Linked DNA regions of Homo sapiens: all the other regions are linked to region 1. The links are contacts of gene promoters, found by promoter capture Hi-C in human tissues and cell types (Jung and others, 2019). All regions are on one chromosome and are shown on one strand. The core of a region is centred on a gene start or on the middle of the fragment in contact, and the rest is flanking DNA. Distances in the headings are between cores, read along the strand shown. Region 1 holds the start of OGDHL (oxoglutarate dehydrogenase L). Region 2 overlaps C10orf53 (chromosome 10 open reading frame 53). Region 3 overlaps PARG (poly(ADP-ribose) glycohydrolase). Region 4 overlaps CHAT (choline O-acetyltransferase).

Region 1 (2,700 bases), core at 169-2,668:
GGCAGTTTGGGCCAGATAGGGACAAAGTCTGGCTGTGTCCAGAATGGCCCGGTGCAGGAACACTGTTTTATAAACACTAAACAGTCTGGGTTGGCCACTGGGCACTGTTGTGACCTTGACCCAGCCTGGCAGGAGGGCAGCCTGCCACCCACCCCCACCTGCATCCCAGCAGGGCATGAGGGCTCAGTATCTAGAGCCAGAGCCCAAGCCAGCCCTACTAGTTCCTGCCCATACAGTCAAGGACAGCAACAAGGAGTGAGAGTCAGGTGCCCTGTGCAACCCCCTGCCCAGTCCAGACTCCAGCAGAGTTGCCCTGGGTATCTCTTGGGGGTCTCTTCTCTGAGGACAAGGTCACATAGCATCCCCAACCCAACCTCAGAACCTCAACCCAACCCCAGAAAACTGCCGACACCATGGCCACTAAGACTCCCACACACACAACCCTGTCTGGGGTGCCCTAGTGAGGACTACTCCCTAATGCACCCATTGCAGAGATCAGTAAACAGAGGCCGGGAAGGGTTCTCCCCAGAGGGCCCTCCAAGCTGGGCAGCAGCAGAGCCTGGATTCTCTCAGCAGCAGGTCTACTCTGACCCCACTTTCTGAGAAGCAGATGAGCTTTTGCTCAGCAACAAACCGCAATTCTATTTAGTTGGGGCCTGTTCCAAGACACTGGGGAGGGGCTGCTAGGGCCTGCTTGAGCCAGGTGGCCGAGGGGCGTCAAAGGGTCTCTCCGGTTCGGCGAATGCGTACTGCAGCCTGCTGTGGCCTCGGGATTACCCCGTCCCCCTCCCACATCTCCCGGGGGGCGGAAGAAGCGCATCCCATGCAAGCAGCGACCTCAGGCCATGCCGCCCTCTCTCAGGCCTCAGTTTTCTCATCTGTAATCGGAGACCGCGGTTAAAACCGTCTATTAGGCTCCTTGGTAGTCCGAAGCTGCCTATGGGTCCCGCCAGGTGCACAGCGCTGACCCTCCCCATCCCCCGCACAGCCCTCGCAGCTCCGGGCCCTCCCCTGGCCACGGAAGGCGCGGGGCAGTCTGAAGTCCTCGGGCTGGAGAAACCCACCGCGAGCACCCGCTCCTCTGCGCAGGACCCTGGACTAGCCGGGTGGTACGCGCGCGATGGGCTGGGGGTCCCGGGGGAGGCCACGGCCAGCCAAGGTCAGAGCCAAGGTCACAGTCTGTTCCTCCTCCCCCTCCCCCCGGCGGGGCCAGACTCAGGGCTGCGGGCAGCGGCGCCCCAGGACCCAGGAGAGAGGAGCTGTGGGGCCGGTCCCCAGGACGGCAGGAGAAGCAGCGGCGCAGGGACCGGGAGGGGGCGGGCCGCCGCGCTCACCGGGCGGGCGGGCCGGGTCCGCGCTGCAGCGAGGTCCGGAGGCTGCAGGTCAGGGGGCTGCGCGGAAGGGGTGCGCGCGCGCCGTGCCAATTACCTGGGTCACGTGACGCAGCCGCCCACGGGCGCGCGCCCCTGAGACTCCGCGCGTCGTGACGTCTCCATGGATGCCCCGCCCCGCTCCTGGCGCTGTCCACGGTGCTGGCGGCCCAGGCCCGAGGTCGCCCACGGCCGAAGGGGGGACTCCTCTCTGAGACCGCAGAACGGGGCTGAGGCCCTGAACCCCGTGTGCTCGTCCTAAAACTAGGACGAATGTACCAGACGACAAGCAGCCTTTGTGTGTAGGAGAGGATAGGTTTTGTTTTGTCGTCTGTAAAATGGGAATGCTATGAAAAGTTCCACTATCTTAGGGATGTTTTGAAAAAAAGATGAGATAATGCGTGAAAAGTGCTTACCCCAAATCTGATACACATTTTACCCATTCATCCTCCCACTGATGGTGACCCAGGCTGTCCTCACCACCCCGTGGCCACAAACAAGGCTGCAATGAACTTCTTCATACACATTCCCTTAGGATCCTGCGTGGAACTTTCTCTGGGATAGAGATCAACTTTCTAATTATTATCAGAATAGCAGATGCAATGTCCTGTTATTGTTTTAATCTGCATTTCTCTGGTTATCAACCATTTGCATCTCCCGTTGTTTGTTAGTTTGGGGTTTTCTGTTGTATTTTTTTCAGCTTTCTGTTGGGTTTTGTTCTCATTTAAATGCAGGGATTTCTTGTATAGGAACATAACATACCTGTGGTTCAAGTTGCCATCAAATCTCTCCTGGATTATCGCAGCAGCCTCCTAACTGGCTTCTCTGCTTCTACACTTACACTCTTGAATTTTAATCTCAAAACTACAGTATGCACTTCACAAGAATATATTCAAGTACATATCAAACCAATTAATATGGTTGCTTGTCGAGGGAGGAGGATGGGGAATGTGGATATGAGGTAATTAATCAATTACCCAGATCACTGCTGACAGAGTGCCACGAAGAAAGGAATACAACTAACTTCTGCACCTGAAGTCTCCCAAAAGTTCTTTATTTGGAGACAGTTAGGGATACATGTGGTCAAGAATCTTCAGCACTTAACACAGCACTATCATGGTATTTTTCAGTAAATATTTGTTGAATGAATGACTGAGTGAGTAAATGGACACTTGACTTGGATCCTGAAGGATGAGTAAGATTTTATCTGGTGCAGAAGGGCAGGGTTCATTGGGAATTCTTTGGACACAAGCACCAAAAATGACCTGGCTAGCTTCAGCCGAAAACGAGTTGATATGAAGGTTGTATATAAGGCAACTCACAGAATCAG
Region 2 (2,700 bases), core at 29-2,528, 66 kb before region 1:
AGAGCCCTCCAATATCAGGTACACATTGAGCTGAAGGAAACAATAAAATGCAATCAAATAACAAGGTGCCATTCCTGACTAATAACACATAGTTGCCAGAAGCATCTGAGATTCCATTGTTTAGTACTCAAAGTGCTCAGAACAGGTGAAATTAAAGAGAGGTTGGGGGAAGAGTGGGAATAAAGGCTTTTGAAAGTCTGAACCAAAAGCAAATGTTAATATTTGGAAACCTTGCTATTCCTACAGATTTATTTCTGACTCCTGAGGGAATAAATATTTTAAATTGCTATTATAAAATTAGCCAAAATCAAATCTTCAATTTCTCTCATCTAAAACAAGAAAATGACCTGCCTTCTTTTGCATTAATATCGTCTGAGGAGGGCGCAAAAGAGTCCTCAGCAGAATGTGAGATGGTTCCCTGGTCCCTCTGGAGTAGAACACAGCCCCATAGAGTTAAAGAGGGTTTTCACTATGTTCAGTGTGAAAATCAGTCATGTCGAAATGATATTTTTACTTTCCACTCTTACGCACCAATGTGTAGTATATATTCTTAACTATAGAGTAACAGAGAGGGGGAAATGCAGATATTGATCTAATGACGTCAAATGGGAGGTCATGGTAAGAAGGCCTCACACCTACGGGGAGAAAACCAGATTCCCTAACAGAAAACTCTGGACCCGGGGCACCTGTGCTGAAGGAGCAGGGCTTTCAGGATCGCTCAGAGACCTGCGGCTTCACCTGCTCTGAGAGCAGTCCTAACCATCGCCCCAGGCAGCCTCAAACCCTCCTGCACCCCAGAACTTCAAAGACCACTGGGGACCATGAAACTGCTTGCACAAGTTCCTTCTCACACAGGACAAAGTAGGGGATATAATTTTTAAAACCCCAGCCCAAGCTTCACTTGTCAGAGTTGATTCAGGGATTGTGAATCACTTAGAACTCTATGGAACTATTTAAGCATCTCCTTACTGAGAAACTGAGGCTCAAAAGAGATTCTTCCTCCCAGTGTCTGGTGCTGGTTTTCACATATCTTTTGTAACCCTACATTTAGTCCCTTTTTTTCAAAACCCAGTTTAAGTTACTATAGATGTAGCATTCAATCTTTGTTTCAATATAACATTTTACTACAAGAGAAATCCATTCTCATTAAAGAAAAATGGAAAAATACAGGTAAAAATAAAGTACAACTTTAGTAACATTTTTATATATTTCAATTTGGGTTTCTTCTGTTTATGTCTGAATATTCATAAAGAGATAGACATATAGAAATTGACTTCATCCATTTGAGATTTATGCACAATTTTGTAAGTTTTTAAAAATTTTTCAACTTTTATTTTAGATACAGGGGGTACATGGGCAGGTATGTTGAATCTTTTTTTAAACGTAACATTTTACATAGAGCCTCTTCCCGCATGATTTGTTGACTGTCTGAGCATTTTATCTTGAATCAGGAAATCTCTCCCTTGAGCTGTGATTTCTACTTTCATGGCCAAAACTTTTTCAATGCTGAGAACTGAAATTGCTAGCTTCCCCTGTCTGCATTTGGAGTGGGAACTTCATCTCCAAACACAGTGGAATCCTGTCTCCTCTAGCCCTGCAACCCCGGCATTAAACTGGTAACAAGTGCTTCCCTCGGCAGCCCCATGCCCTCCTCCAGCATCCGCCTCAACCCCGCAGGTTGTATTTGTGCCTTCAGAGTAGCACTACAAGTGAAGAAGACCTGCCCTCCTTGGCTTCATGACCAGAGCTGAAGGGCAGGTAAGGCGAGACAGTACACGGATTCTAAGAAATACCGGAGAAGCTTCTGGGAGATGCCTGTGCCCAGAGCCCTATGTTTCAGTTTGGATCAGAGGCAAATGATGTCTGAATCAGCATTGCTGGGAAAAATCACCGAGGTTTCCTCTGAGCAGTGGGATTGGGGGGTGTGGGGGGCAGGTGAGGTAGAGGGAGGAAGTTTGCAGGGCTATTCTGCCTTCCGTATTGTAAATGTTTTTAGTGGTGGAATTGATTTTCACTTTGTATGTAAGTGTGTGTTAGGGGTACTTTTCAGATAAAAACTTAAAATCAGGGCCGGGCACTATGGCTTTTGCCTGTAATCCCAGCACTTTGGGAATCCAAGGTGGGTGGATTTGTTTGAACACAGGAGTTCGAGAGCAGCCTGGCCAACATGGTGAAGCCTCATCTCTACAAAAAATACAAAAATTAGCCAGGCCTGGTGGCATGCACCTGTAGTCCCAGCTACTTGAGGGGCTGAGGCAGGAGGATCACCTGAGCCCAGGAGCTAGAGGCTGCAGCGAACCTAGATCACGCCACTGCACTCCAGCCTGGGTGACAAAGTGAGACCCTGTCTCAGAAAATAAAATAAAGATTTTGACATAGAAGCCACCTGTCTATGGCCTTATCCTCCTCTGTCACTGATTAAGAGGAACTTTCTCTATGGAAATCTCTGAAGAATGTGCTGTCATCCTCCTCCTTTGCCTCCCTCTCTCGAGCACGCACCTCCCTGCCCAGAAGCAAGAGACACAGCTTGCTCCCCATCAAAGGCAAAAGTGCCCTGTGCTTCAACGTGCTAGACATTCGGGCGCCTTCATGCTTTTAAAATACCACTGATTAAATCACATTTTAAGTTTTATAAGATGTCAAGTCAATGTCGTTATGATTAACATGTAAAGAAAGTGTATTTTAAAATAAAGTTAGAAG
Region 3 (2,700 bases), core at 126-2,625, 68 kb after region 1:
GTATCTTACAAAAACAAACAACTAATTGTGGTAAAACACAAAACTCATGTACAATTAAGTAACAAGCATGTTAAAAATATTTTGCCAGCCGGGCACGGTGGCTCATGCCTGTAATCCCAGCACTGTGGAAGCTGAGGCAGGTGAATCATTAGGTCAGGAGTTCGAGACCAGCTTGGCCAACATGGTGAGACCCTGTCTCTGCTAAAAATACAAAAAATTAGCTGGGCGTGGTGGCAGGCACCTGTAATCCCAGCCACTCGGGAGGCTGAGGGAGGAGAATTGCTTGAACTCAGGAGGTGGAGGTTGCAGTGAGTCGAGATAGTGCCACTGCATTCCAGCCTGGGCGACAGTGCAAGACTCCGTCTCAAAATAAAAAAAAAAAAATTTGCCTTCTTTCTTTTGTAATTTTCTTTTTTTGTAAGAGATGTGGTCTTACTAGGCTGACCTTGAACTTCAGGGCTCAAACATTCCTCCCACCTCAGCCTCCCAAGTAGCTGGGACTATAGGCGCATACCATTGTGCTCAGCTTAGCCTTATTTCTATTAATAATTAAAGAAATACAAGTTTAAGGATTTATACCTGCCCATGTTACCCACCATGAACATTTTTTATAAGATTTTTTTGTTACAAAAACAATATATGCTCACAATAAAAAAGATGCAGATTAAAAATAAAGTATAAAACATCACTGACCAAGTGTGGTGGCTCACAAGTGTAATCACAACACCAGCCTAGGCAACATAGTGAAACCCCATCTCTACTAAAAATAAAAAATGAAAAAACCCCCAACAAAACAAAACAAAGACTATCACCCACTAGAGAACAACCATAGTTAATCCTGGCACGTAAACAGATGAACATAGAGAACTGCAAATTTGTGTGTGATATTTTATATTCACAATTTAATTTTAAAATGGTTTATATGGCATACATTGGGTATTTCTCCCATTTGTCAATATTCCAAAACCATCTTTCCCTGTCAGCAGACACATTTCTATAATGGTTTTTAAAGGAAGCATAATATTTTATTGCATAAATGTACCATAATTTCTTTTTTTTTTAGCATCATAGTTTAGTAACCAATTCCCCATTGAAGGACTTTATGACTCATTCTAAATTTTTAATGAATATTTATGCTAATGAAGGGGAGGGAAATGTCAGTTACTCCAAAATTTAAATCTCAATAGTTGAGGAAATGAATTATATAATGGAAATCTTAGACTACTATGCTTGATAGTCACCAGAGCAAGCACAGCTGCAGTCTGAAAGGCTTTTAAGCCAGAAAAAAAGAAAAAAGGAAAAGAAGTGAACACATTTATAAAGCTTTCCAAACTGTCTATCACAAATGACCACGGCTTACAGCAGACCTAGCTTCTGGATTGATGACTTGAATCTAGTCATTCATTTTACTTAAGAGAAAGACAGGAAAAAAGTATCTGTCGTAAGATCAATAAGCCCAGAGTGAAAAATAGGTTTCCTCAAACACCGAAAATAGCACCATGCAGTTTTTGTCTTTGAATTTGAAGAAAATGTAGGTGAAAGTCTTTAGCATAAAGGGACAGGAAACATCTTTATAAGCACACCACAAAAATGTGAACACATAAAAGCTAACTCAGTAACTTCAGCCTGATCGGTTGAAATAAATGAAGAAGCAGAAAAATGTTTATAACATGTAACAGTTAAACAATTAATATTTTTTAATATACAAAGAGTTATTACTAGCCAGTGATAAAATCAAACTACTCCCAAAGAGATGAATGGGCAGAAGGCATGAAAAAGCAATTCACAAAACAAACAAATGGCCAATAAACACGAAAACTGTTGAACCTTAGAGAAATGAAAAATAGTAACAAAGTCCTGTCTTGGTGATGCTGTTCATGTGAGGAAGACAATGTGAATTGATATCACCTTTCAGAGTGAAATCTACAAGGATCAAAATGAAGTATACGTATTCTTTGAGTCATTAATCTCACCTCTAGGAATTTACCTTAAGAAGATAATTACACATAATATATATAATTGTACTACACACTGTAGTACTCCTTATAATATAATGAAAACAAACTCTGAATGGAGAATCTGTGAAATAAATTATGGTACATATGTGCATACAACAGAATACTGTGTAGCCACTAACAAATGCTGAGTACTCAGTAGATCTACATTTGTTAGATGGATAGTTGAAAACTATCCATGAGACTGCAGACTTTCTAAAAGGAGGAGGCTGGAGAATAGAATAGAGGGTGTCACTTCATCAAGTTACATACATTGCTACTGAGATGACCTGAAGAATGGTCACCAAATGCTGACAGTGAATTCTAGTGATTTTTATATACTTCATGGTATTTTTCTAGATTAAAAAAAAATAATAAATGTGTCATTTTTATAAAAATATTAAGAAGCATTTTACTGATGAGGGGAAAGGCAGTTACATTATGACAGACTCAAGTATTCTCAAAGAGATGAATTTTATCTAAATATAGTTCAGCTATTAAGGCCAGCTGGCTGTTTTATGTCTGCTTTATTGCTTGTTACTTTGTAACTGTGGTATAAAAAAGAATTTTTCTGGTGTGCCATCTTGGGTTCCTGGTAAAAGCTTCAAACACCCTTGGAATTTCCTGAGTGCTGGTGCCTTTGTTCTGCTAATGAGGCGATTCAGATTGCACATCCGGGAGTCAGGGGAGGGCAGAGACCGAGCTC
Region 4 (2,700 bases), core at 115-2,614, 120 kb before region 1:
TTTTGTTTGAATTCTCATAGTCTCTGAGGACTGACAGCATAAAGATCACCCCCTAGGCCAGAGAGTCGGGAAGAATATGAGATGTGCGATGGCAGATTTACCTCCCAAAAGAAAAAAGTACTCCTTCATCAGGGGAGGAAAGATGCTGAGATAGGATTGGGAAAGGTTAAGAAGGTCTAAGCCCCTGAGAAAGATCCCAGTTCATCCATCTCCTGGACTGTGAGAAGGGGGATGGGCATGGCATAGAAATCTGACTTGTGCTAACTTCTCAGGGAATAGATCAGAGCAAGCAAAGGCAAGTGTCCCAAAGAGGGTGGTATATGTCCGGGGGTACTTGTGCACAGTAGTGCACATTAAAGAACATCTCCTGAGTCTTGCAGCCCTGCACAGAGAGAGATACCAGGTGCTATTTTGTCTGTGCTCATCAGAGTCTCAGCCTGTAAGCTTCCAACCTCTAATGCCAGCCTCAGGGCTCCCCGAGGCCTCCTGGCCTCTGGAATTTCCACACTACCAAAGCTGTCAGCTCCCTCCTTGGGCATGGGTGTCAGAGCAGGCTCCTCCTATTACTCAATCCCCACCTCTCACTATTACGCCGGGCTCCTTGAGGAAGATTGATTCGCCACTTTAAAGGAGCCTCGATGTGCTCGATGAGGATGCCACAAGACAAATGGCTCCTGCCGTGCGCCTTCAGCCCGTTGTCCCATGTTTCCATTACATTTGGGCCACAGTCATGGTGGATGAGCTTGGGTGTAGTGCTCATTTTCTGCCTTACATGATAAACTTGTCAGCATTTGACTGATCAGCTACTTATATGCAGGGAGTTCATTTGCAAGGCCACCTGGCTCCCCGCTCTGTTGTCCTGCTCCCATTTTACCCTGTCTAATGAGCCAGGACCTGGTTCCTGTTGGGCAGCGCTGGGCTCCTGGGCCCTGCAGAGCCTGCACATGATGGCAAGGCCTCAGTGCCTCCTCACAATCTGCCTCCCCTGCCTGGAGGTGACAAGGGCAGTGATGCCCAGGGAGCCATTCTTTCCTGCTGCCAGCCTTGCATTGCCCAGTTAAAAAGGAGTGTGCCAGGCCTCCACTCTCCTGCCTCGAGCCTGCATCAAGGCCTGCTCTCAGCCTCCTGACTGAGCAGGCATGCTGTGGGCTGCCTCAGGAGCTGCAGTCTGCCCACTCCACACTGGCTTTGGGGCTGTTTTTAAGGATCGCTTAGTGAAGGCAGCTACTAAGCCAGGGCTCTCAGAGTTCACCCTGAGGTATGGCCAACAGGAATGAGGTGTACAGCATTCAAGCTGCCTATGGCCCCGGCTTGGCTGGCCTTCAGGCCCATGCCTTTCCCAAGCTGCCAGGTATCCTAGACTCTGCTCTGACCACACTGAGCTCTTCCATGATCCTTCAGCACTCCCTGTTGTTGCTGGCTGAAGTCACATGACTGAGCTGGGCATTCATAGCCCTTGTTGATGAACCTGAGCACTGGGGTTGGATGCCTGAGATCAAACCCAGCTCCCTCCACTTAGTGGATGATTATTATCATCCGTGTTTACAAGAGAAACCTTGTAAATGGCCTAAGGTCAAGATATTTGGTTTCTCTGGTCCTGACCTGTAAATGAGGCATGACAATGATACCTATCTTATATGCATCAATATGCATGTTTAGATTGATATTTGGCACATAGTAGGTGCTCAACAAAGGTTAGCTAATAGCATCACATCATTATGTTCTTCCAGCCCCACCTAAATCCTGCATGCCCTCACCCATAAGCTGGAGGTCAAGCCGATCACTCACAAGCTCTGCTTACAAGCCTGGGGATCTGTTCTCCGGCCATCCAAACCACTGTCCCACCCTCCATCCACCACCCTGCACTACTATACACCTCCTGGCATGCCTCTCCCTTCTTCTTTGCTGATCTGAACCTGACCCAGACCTGGCCAAGGCCTCCCCGGGGCTCTGAAGGCACTGGCTAGCCTGAGCCTGCAGGGACCAGTAGCACAGCACATAGTGCAGGGCGAGCACTATGGCCATCTGCAGGGATGCCTAAGGAGGGGAGAAGGGCAGAGCAGGGAGCCTTGCAAGGGGGAAGAAGCCCTACCTTGTCCCAGCCTCACCCTACCCCCACTCCCCCATCAATTCATGAAGCTCAAAGCCTCAAAAGTAGTTGGGTTTTGCCCTTCATAAGGACATGGCCTTTCCCCTTCCCATTAGCCAGCTGGACACCTCCAGGCCCCCTGTCTGAACTGGGTCCACAGATCCCAGCCCTACTTTGCCCAGGCCAAGGGAAGCACACTAAAGTCCATTACCCAGCATGGACTGTGCTTGCCTTGTTCAGGAGGCCCAGGCCCCACCCTCAGTGAGTGCTGATATGGGGGAGGGGACCAGACCAGGGGTCCAGGGGCTGCAAGTGCTGACTGTCCAAAGCACGGTGGTCTGGGAATGGCATTGGGGTCATGTGCTGTGCAGCAGGGGCTGGTGGTCAGGGATTGGGGGGCACCTCTGGGCTCAGGTGCTGTGTGAGGCTGGCCTGACAAGAGTGCAATTCCACATCTGCACTGAGCAAGCTGTGGAGGCCACGTGCTCAGGGTGTTAGGAGTCCTCCAGGGCAGGGCTGGTACTGCCAGAGGATGAGGGAGCTCAGGGAGGGCTGTCATAGACAGAGGAGGAGAAGGGCCTTGTCCTGGGCACAGCCTGCGTGATGATGAG

Evidence for each region. The method cuts DNA at HindIII sites, captures the fragments that hold promoters and counts their contacts. A contact is called where the count stands out against the background at its distance.
Region 2: a contact is called between a fragment that was not itself captured here and the fragment with the promoter of OGDHL in region 1, in 5 of the 25 tissues and cell types used here (H1 embryonic stem cells, bladder, pancreas and 2 more).
Region 3: a contact is called between a fragment that was not itself captured here and the fragment with the promoter of OGDHL in region 1, in 2 of the 25 tissues and cell types used here (liver and mesendoderm cells).
Region 4: a contact is called between a fragment that was not itself captured here and the fragment with the promoter of OGDHL in region 1, in 3 of the 25 tissues and cell types used here (H1 embryonic stem cells, aorta and pancreas).

What each region holds. Positions count from the first base shown.
Region 1 is chr10:49,760,905-49,763,604 of GRCh38, forward strand. It overlaps OGDHL (oxoglutarate dehydrogenase L), which reads right to left and starts at 1,419. Exons shown (of 23, transcript NM_018245.3): 1 at 1,335-1,419. RefSeq lists a silencer at 1,170-1,379. The HindIII fragment of the contact is 26,824 bases long and covers 1-2,700 here.
Region 2 is chr10:49,694,842-49,697,541 of GRCh38, forward strand. It overlaps C10orf53 (chromosome 10 open reading frame 53), which reads left to right. Exons shown (of 3, transcript NM_001042427.3): 3 at 1-2,691. Among named protein-coding and RNA genes, the nearest start is that of C10orf53, 17 kb to the left of the region's middle. The HindIII fragment of the contact is 4,554 bases long and covers 1-2,700 here.
Region 3 is chr10:49,828,870-49,831,569 of GRCh38, forward strand. The region is part of intron 16 of PARG (poly(ADP-ribose) glycohydrolase); the gene reads right to left. Among named protein-coding and RNA genes, the nearest start is that of OGDHL, 68 kb to the left of the region's middle. RefSeq lists an enhancer at 2,040-2,700. The HindIII fragment of the contact is 3,975 bases long and covers 1-2,700 here.
Region 4 is chr10:49,641,526-49,644,225 of GRCh38, forward strand. All of the region lies in intron 7 of CHAT (choline O-acetyltransferase), which reads left to right. Among named protein-coding and RNA genes, the nearest start is that of CHAT, 29 kb to the left of the region's middle. The HindIII fragment of the contact is 6,718 bases long and covers 1-2,700 here.